Regions from separate parts of the Homo sapiens genome. Here region 1 is linked to region 2. Evidence: promoter capture Hi-C in human tissues and cell types (Jung and others, 2019). All regions are on one chromosome and are shown on one strand. Each heading gives the region's core, a stretch centred on a gene start or on the middle of the fragment in contact. The rest is flanking DNA. Distances are from core to core; before and after follow the strand shown.

Region 1 (4,427 bases), core at 1,468-3,967, 700 kb after region 2:
GAAGTCCCTTTTTAAACTTCTCTCCATTGTAGAAGTGTACAGTGTTAGAGATAAAAGCTATCTGAGTATGCCCTTGCAACTCTCCGTTTTACCAACATGCACCATGATGCCCAGAGGCGACAGGTAGTATGCCCAAGGTCTCATAGCTTGTGAAAAAGCCCAGACCATAACTCAAATGTCCTAAGGAGGCTCTCTACAGTTCTGGAGAGAAAATGGCAAAGATACTTATTTGGAAAAAGTTTCCAAGCCAGTGTGTACTTTTGCTTTACCAATCTTTAGGGAAAAGGAGGAGTGACTCTCATTATTCTTGAAGCACTGTCCTGTCACTAACAATAGCCAGTCCTCATTTCTTATCCTCTGAAATGAGCAAAAATCCCACAAAGGGAGGGAGGCCAACTTCATACACATAGGGAAAAATGACCTTCCTATAGTCTGTGTACAAAACTAAAAAGATATTGAACCATTAAAGATTCCTTGAAAGTCACACACATACTGGATTTCTCCTTTTTCAACTGCTTATAGGTAGCTGCAGCCTAGAAATGGATGAAGGGTTTTTCAATTTATGCAATTGTCAGATATTTTTCCTTCTGCCTATAAGCCATGCACTGCCCCCAAAGCCAAATTTGCAAAGTATTCTTGCTAAGTATTTCATGGATTTCATTGCGCATTAAAAAAAAAAATGTAGCCCTGACACTAATAATAAGATAGGCACCAAAAACATGGTCCTTTTGAATTGATTCTATAAGACTGATTGTTAGTGAACCTTGGAGGAATACAGCAAGGAAGAACACTTTACAGATTCCAAATTCATATATACTGACCATTTTGAGGGAAAAGTCACTTTAAAGTCAAGAGGTTCCCCCAGACTTCTGCTGTCATAATCCCAGCATAACTCAGTAGATTCAGTTCTGAGAGATAGATCTGTGACTGCTTTCTCAGCATCCCCTCCTCTTTCATTTGCAATGACTCATTTTCACTCTGCTGCCCATACCTCCCTGCACAGCCCAGAGGCCTTGAGTATTAGGTGTGGGACTTGTGACTGAGACCACCAAGCCAATGATCATAATCACATTCCCTGGGTACAGTTATTCGTCCAGACCTGGGCATGTGACTCCCGTCAGGCCAATGTGACAGGTAGTGAGTTTTTCTGTGTGCTCCTGGGAAAGACATTTCTGGGTCTTCTGAAAGAGCTCCTGAAGCAATGACATCCCCTTTCCCTTCAACCAGGTAGACAGAAAAAGACAAAATTAATCAATTTCAATCTATATGTAAGATTTATTAGGGAAATAAGGGAACTAATAAGAAAATTTCATTGCCAATCAAAAGTGAAGGCATACTTACAGAGAATAATTTCTTAGAATTAGGCATGGCTTTGTAAATACCTCTGCAAAGGCAACAGCTTATACAGCAAGAGAATCTGGCTCAGTTTACAGTAATGTTATTCTTCTCAGGAAGAGAAATCCTGGAAACAATCAGGATATTTAAAAAAATAATAGCTATTATTTTTGACATTGAGCTGATCAATGAAATTTGAGCTGTCATTCAAATAGACTAAAAAAACCTAGGTAACTTAATGAGAAGAAATAAACTTAGGAGAGCATACCAAAATCATATTTTAAATTATTTTTCTGCTTCCATCAAAACAAAAGCAATGTTATACTTTTTTCACTGCATTTTCAAAACATGAAACGTGGGTTGCAGGGGTAATCACTGACTCCCTTAATAAAATCATAAATCAAAGGAAAGAACAATACTTTTAGAAATACGTGAGTTACCATGGAAGGCTAGAAATGTAGATAAACTGAAATCTGACATTTAGAGGTCAGTAGTGAAGAGGTTATTGTTTACACGGAAAGCTATTTGTGCAATTAACTGAAATTAATTATGCTTGTATAAACTTCATAAACATATCACAGATCTGGATTTTTGACTAATTAAGCTTTAATTTAGCTGCAAAAACTAAACCATATAAGCATTTATCAGAAAACCCTACTCACCCATTAAAAAAAAAAGGTAAAATCATAGATTTTAGAAACCATCTGGAGAAATAAACAATTTAGGGAAAGCTGCAAAGACAGAAATTATAGTCAATTATCCCAGATGTAAAGCCATATTTTGAGGTTATGCTGTCCTTCAATTTCTCAAGAGTACCCCTTAATTAAATGCAAATAATCAGAAATGGCAATTAATATATTGCTATAATTCCCTGATTAGATAGTGGAGTCCATTTACAATGTTTGAAGGTTGCTGTGACTCTGAATAAAGCAAATAGAGTATATGTCATGAAATGCTCCCAAGTATCCCTTATTGGAAAAGTTCTCCATAGTGGTCCATCCCAGAGACTAGCCACGAGGTTCACAGTAGTCACACTATGGAATGCTATTTCTGTTTTTTTCATTTGTTTTGAGATGGAGTCTCTCTCTGTCACCAGGATGGCATGCAGTGGCGTGATCTTGGCTCACTGCAACCTCTGCCTCCCGGGTTCAAGTGATTCTTCTGCCTCAGCCTCTCGAGTAGCTGGGACTACAGATGCGCACCACTACTCCCAGCTAATTTTTATAATTTTAGTAGAGATGGGGTTTCACCATGTTGGCCAGGATGGTTTCAGTCTCTTGACCTCATGATCCGCCCGCCTGGGCCTCCCAAAGTGCTGGCATTACAGGCATGAGCCACCACGTGCCAGCCTCGAATGCTATTTCTAAACCATTTGAACACTCAACCTTTATTGACAAATAGGAATATTGGCTTTGAAGAGGGCTTCCAAGAAGGCAGAGATTTTGAACCACCTGATGTAAGCATCACACCATACAAATCAGAAATAAGCCAGTAAAGGTCAAATGGCCTCTCATGAATGACATAGTGCAGTGTGGAGACTCAAGTACATGTGTGTTGCTTCTTCATTGGCTCCTACTTAGGGTGTGTGTTCCTACAGTGGAGACTGTCTGAATGGCAATTCCCTTTTCTTGACACTACACATAGACAGCCTACTCTAAGTCCTTTCTCAATCAGGGCTTTTGAACTTGCTTTTCCTTCGGCCTAAAATCTTGCCCAGCTCTTCCCATGACTGTCTCAGTATCATTCCTTTAGGCTTCTACTAAAATTTGCCTTTCCAGGGAGGCAAATGCTGATCCATGTCCAAAGTAATCCACATGCAATTTCACGTTGTCATCTCTCTCTGTAGACTTCAGAGGATGCATCACAACCAATAATTATTTTAGTTTACCTCTTTATAGGCCATCTCATGCACCAGAATAGCTATAGTTTACTGTGTTTCACAGAGTCCTATTTTAAGTTGAACCAGCAATAATGTGTACATATAAAATATTTGAGTCACCGTATTTCTTACAGTAATGATGATTTTCAGCAACACCCAAGTTACATATGCTTTTAAGACTCTATTAGTCATTCCTTTAAACATGAGCTTATGACTCTGTGCTGAATTTTAGCAACTGAAACTTATTTTCCTCTTTGTAAGACAATTCTCCAAATGTTTTAAGTTGACAGGGATAAAAACTAGCACTGAGTGCCTACCATACTCTACTTTCTGGTTATCTCTAATCTTTATTACAACTTTTCAACACAAGTATTGCTAATCTCACTAGTACAAATGAGTAAAGGAAGGGTCAGAGAAGATTAGGTACTTTGCCAATAATTGTCTAGATCATCAGTAACAGAGCAGAAGCTTCCAGGTCTGTCTTCTTCAAAACCTGGTAAATTACACTGCTTCTCTCCTAAAATCACATGTATGTGCACATCAGGATTTTTCCGAATCATCCTTTTGGTGCAAGATTTTTCTTGGCCCCTTCATTGGACTTGCAACAGGGGTGCCCTATTATTTGGCTTGCCCACTGTGCTCAACCCCTTGCAGGAGGGAGCGCATGAACAAGCAACTACAGGATCTTGTTGGGCGCTCCAGGCTCCAGCAGGAGCAAGCTCCATATGGGGCCTGCAGCAGCACCCAGGTTAGGGTGCCCATGACCCCGAAGCCCCAGAGGGGCTTACAGCATTACAGTATTCTCTTAGTTCTGCCATCTGCAGGTGGCAGTGTGTTAGCAGCTCAATTGACCCCTTGCCTCAATCATGTGGGGCAGTTGCCCTCTGTCAGTGAGAGCAAACGGCTGGTGTGACAGCCTTTCTGGGTACCTACTCTTGGTGGGCGCCAAGCCCTTGTCTGGCATCCAAGTAGAATGAGGTCATGCAGACAACTGAAGGATGGTGAAGGCTAAGATTTGTATTAAGTGATGAAAATGGCTCTCAGTAGAAAGGGGAGCTGGAGAGGGGATGGGAAGGGTGAGTCGTCTTCCCCCAAAGTCAGGCTGTGTCTTTCACAGTCTGGCCATCTCTTCTCCAAAGTCCAGTGGTCTCCTCAAAGTCTGGCCATCTCCCCCTCTACTGACTGAGTCTGGAGTCTTTATAGGCACAGGATG
Region 2 (4,404 bases), core at 1,036-3,535:
GTCTGGAGTTGGGTGCCACACAACACAGTCACTATGTGTGACAATTTAAATTTTATTTTTTTGTTTTTAATTAATTTATTTTTTTGAAAGCTCTGTCATCTAAGGCTTGAGTGCAGTGGTGCCATCTCAACTCCCCGAAGACTGTCTCCTGGGCTCAAGCAATCTGAAATTTTAATTAAAATGAAATTAAATAAAAATTTTTAGGCCAGGCATGGCGGCTCACACCTGTAATTCCAGCACTTTTGGAAGTTGAGATGAGCGTATCACTTGAGGCCAGGAGTTCCAGCCCAGCCTGGCCAACATGGTGAAACTCCACCTCTGCTAAAAATACAAAAATTAGCCAGGCATGGTGGCGCGTGTCTGTAGTCCCAGCTACTCAGGAGACTGTGGCAAGAGAATCACTTAAACCCAGGAGATGGAGGTTGCACTGAGCTGAGATTGTGACACTGCACTCCAGCCTGGGTGACAGAGTCAGGCTCTGTCTTGGAAAAAAAAAAAATTAAAAATGCCTTGGTTGCCTTAGCCACATTTCAAGTGCTCAATAGTCATATGTGGCTAGTGGCTGCTGTAGTGCACGACACTCACACAGAATAACTCTGTAACCAATATTCTACTGGAGACAGAATCGATCCTATGGAATTCAAATTCAAATCCTATGGAATTGTACAGTTATGTAACATCTCAGAGCACTGGCTCCACATCCCTGTCTTGGCTCTCTGTGGCTCATCAGTTCCAGAATAACTCCGTTACCAGAATAACTCCATTACTAAAATTCTACCGGGCAGCACTCTATAGGAGGGAATAGAGACAGACACCACATATATTGCACACACAGATAAAATGGATTAAGGAAAACAAGATAATAATAGTGAGAGGGACTGGTTGGCTACTTTAGATTGAAGGACCTGTGAAAAATGTCCAGGGAGGTCATATTTAAGCCGGGATAAAAATGAAAAGGAAAAAAGTGAAAATGGTGGGGCTGGGGAGCTAGATGGAGAACACAGCCACGGAAAAGGCCTTAGGGTTGAGGCAAGTTGGAAAGAAAGCTCTAGTAGCTGGGGCTGAGTCAGCAGGGGAGAGAGTGGTAGAAGAAATCTATGGGGTAGGTCAGGGCCAGACCACCAGGGCTTCAGTAATTTGAGTAAAGATTTAGGAATTATTATTATTATTATTATTATTATTTTTCTGAGAGAGTTATGAGAGGGTTATAAGTGGGGGAATGATGTAGTCTGATTATATATTTACCTTTACCTCACTTATCCTGATTTCATTAGTTGCTTACTTACCCATGTCCCTGCCCGATTGCACAAGTCTGGATTTTTGACGTCCCTAGTATATTGAGTCATGTCCCATCAGCTCAATATGTTAGTAATAACTGGTTGAATTGAATTAGCTTTTTTTTTTCAATCTTTTTTTCCTTAAGAAACAGGGTCTTGCTCTGTCACCCCGGCTGGTGTGCAGTGGCACAATCATAGCCTCCAACTGCTGGGCTCAAGCAACCCTCCTGCCTCAGCCTCCTGAGTAGCTGGGACTACGGTCAGGTACACAAGGCCTGACTATATTTTTTGTTCGTTTTTTTTGCAGAGAGGGAGTCTTGCTATGTTGCCCAGGTTGGTCTCAAACTCCTTACCTCAGGTGATCCACTTGCCTTGGCCTCCCAAAGTGTTGGGATTACAGGCGTGAGCCACTGTGCCTGGCAAGAAATGAATTTTTATTTTTATTTTTGAGATGGAGTTTTGTTCTTGTTGTCCAGGCTAGAGTGCAATGGCTTGATCTCGGCTCACTGCAACCTCCACCTTCCAGGTTCAAGCAATTCTTCTACCTCAGCCTCCTAAGTAGCTGGGATTACAGGCGCCCGCCACCACCCCCAGCTAATTTTTGTATTTTTAGTAGAGTCGGGGTTTCACCGTGTTAGCCAGGCTGGTCTTGAACTCCCGACCTCAGGTGACTGGCCTACTCGGCCTCCCAAAGTGCTGGGGTTACAGGCACGAGCCACCATGCCCGGTCAAGAAATGAATTTTTAAACGCTGCCATACAAAACACTATGCTGAGATCATCCACTTCCCCATGAACCCTGTCATGAGCTGCAAGATACAGACCACCACTGCCTCCTTGGAAGTTACTGAATTCTTAGACCAGAAGAGGAGTTAATGAAGTACTAGGCAAGCTTACTCATGTTTGTATGGTTTAATGATTAACAGCAGAAGTCAACAGCCCGATTTAACGCATGTGGGTGCTTGACACAGAGCCTGCTATATAGTATTCTCCAAAAACCTCAGCTAGTGCTATTACTGCATATGATGTAGGTTTAGTTTTCCAAGTTCTTCCGTGGCCCTTTTTGCTTATTATATCAATCCTTGGTGGGAGATAGAGGAAGCATTTTTAGTGCTATTTTACAACTGAGGAAATAGAGGTTTGAAGAGAACTCAGGAACTCTCAGGGTTACCCAGCATTGTGAGTGACAGAGCCTGGATCTGAACGTAAGTCTGCTCCAGACTTCTGTTTCCTGAAGCATTCTCTTGAAGTCCCTTGGTAAGGAGGTGTAGTCTGAAGCATGTTGTACAGGAGCATGAAAGGTTAGGCACAGTGATTCACATTCACTCTCAATTTCTCTTGCTAATGGCAAACTTGGCAATATGACTGTTAAGGCTAGGGATAAGTCGTTGTGGCCACTGAGTAGGAAAAGCTCCACGTCCACCAGAGGCCCAGTTTACTCTGAAAAGCAAGTGCATCTCTGCCACTGGAAGGCTGGCATTTGCTCTCGTGCTGCCATTGAGCCACGCTGGTTCTCTGCTTCCAGTTTCCTTTTCTTTTCTTTTTTTTTGTTTTGTTTTTTGAGACGGAGTCTTGCTCTGTCGCCCAGGCTGGAGTGCAGTGGCGCGATCTCGGCTCACCGCAAGCTCCGCCTCCCGCGGGTTCACGCCATTCTCCTGCCTCAGCCTCCCGAGTAGCTGGGACTACAGGCGCCAGTGACCACGCCCGGCTAATTTTTTGTATTTTTAGTAGAGACGGGGTTTCACCCTTTTAGCCAGGATGGTCTCGATCTCCTGACTTCGTGATCTGCCCGCCTTGGCCTCCCAAAGTGCTAGGATTACAGGTTTGAGCCACCGCGCCCGGCCCTGTTTCCTTTTTGTTTGTTCCCCTGATACCCTGTATCAGGACCAGGAGTCAGTTTGGCGGTTATGTGTGGGGAAGAAGCTGGGAAGTCAGGGGCTGTTTCTGTGGACAGCTTTCCCTGTCCTTTGGAAGGCACAGAGCTCTCAGCTGCAGGGAACTAACAGAGCTCTGAAGCCGTTATATGTGGTCTTCTCTCATTTCCAGCAGAGCAGGCTCATATGAATCAACCAACTGGGTGAAAAGATAAGTTGCAATCTGAGATTTAAGACTTGATCAGATACCATCTGGTGGAGGGTACCAACCAGCCTGTCTGCTCATTTTCCTTCAGGCTGATCCCATAATGCATCCTCAAGTGGTCATCTTAAGCCTCATCCTACATCTGGCAGGTAAGTGAGTAGGTGCCCTGGGCGGGAAGAAGGGAGTAGAGGGGGGTTAGAAGCCAGAGAATGGGGTAGGGGAAGGGGAGGGGATGGTGGTGGTGGATTAATGTAGATGTTCTTTGGGTACCGTTGTATGGCTATGAGTTAACTAGTGAGCAGGACCAGAATAAAGTTTTAGGCCAAAGAAATTGCTTAACTGCTGTGAATTACAACATTCATGGCTAAATGAACAAGGCAAGATGCAGCACAGTGTGTCACAGGCTGCCCTTTGTGTTTAAACAAAAAGGGTGTGGTTAGATGTATATGCATAGACACATGTATATAGGAAATAGTGACAGTGGGTAATGTGGGATGGGGGCAGAGGGTGGGAGGTGGAGGGAGAGTTAATCCTTATTGTATTTTTTTGTGCCTTCCGATTTTTTTCAGCCACATTCAATTCTCTTTCTTTCTTTCTTTCTTTCTTTCTTTCTTTCTTTCTTTCTTTCTTTCTTTCTTTCTTTCTTTCTTTCTTTCTTTCCTCTCTCTCTCTCTCTCTCTCTCTTCATGAGGTCTCACTCTGGAGTGCAGTAGGGCAATCTTTTTTTTTTTGAGACAGAGTCTCACTCTGTCGCCCAGGCTAGAGTTCAGTGGCGTGATCTCGGCTCACTGCAGCCTCCGCCTCCTGGGTTCAAGCAATTCTCTGCCTCAGTCTCCCAAGTAGCTGGGATTACAGGTACCTGCCACCACTACCAGCTAATTTTTTTGTATTTTTAGTAGAGACAAGGTTTCCCCATCTTGGCCAAGCTGATCTTGAACTCCTGACCTTGTGATCCACCTGCCTCGGCCTCCCAAAGTGCTGGAATTATAGGCGTGAGTCACCGCGCCTGGCCTAGTTGGGCAATCTTGATTCACTGCAACCTCGACCTCC

The links. Contacts are between HindIII fragments. The study calls those that stand out against the background at their distance.
Region 1: a contact is called between a fragment that was not itself captured here and the fragment with the promoter of HAVCR1 in region 2, in 1 of the 25 tissues and cell types used here (mesenchymal stem cells).

Annotation. Positions count from the first base shown.
Region 1 is chr5:156,360,623-156,365,049 of GRCh38, reverse strand. The region is part of intron 3 of SGCD (sarcoglycan delta); the gene reads right to left. All of the region lies in intron 1 of LOC124901120 (a long non-coding RNA gene), which reads left to right. Among named protein-coding and RNA genes, the nearest start is that of SGCD, 36 kb to the right of the region's middle. The HindIII fragment of the contact is 5,931 bases long and covers 1-4,427 here.
Region 2 is chr5:157,056,997-157,061,400 of GRCh38, reverse strand. It overlaps HAVCR1 (hepatitis A virus cellular receptor 1), which reads left to right and starts at 2,285. Exons shown (of 9, transcript NM_001173393.3): 1 at 2,285-2,480; 2 at 3,446-3,503. The coding sequence starts at 3,458. The HindIII fragment of the contact is 13,602 bases long and covers 1-4,404 here.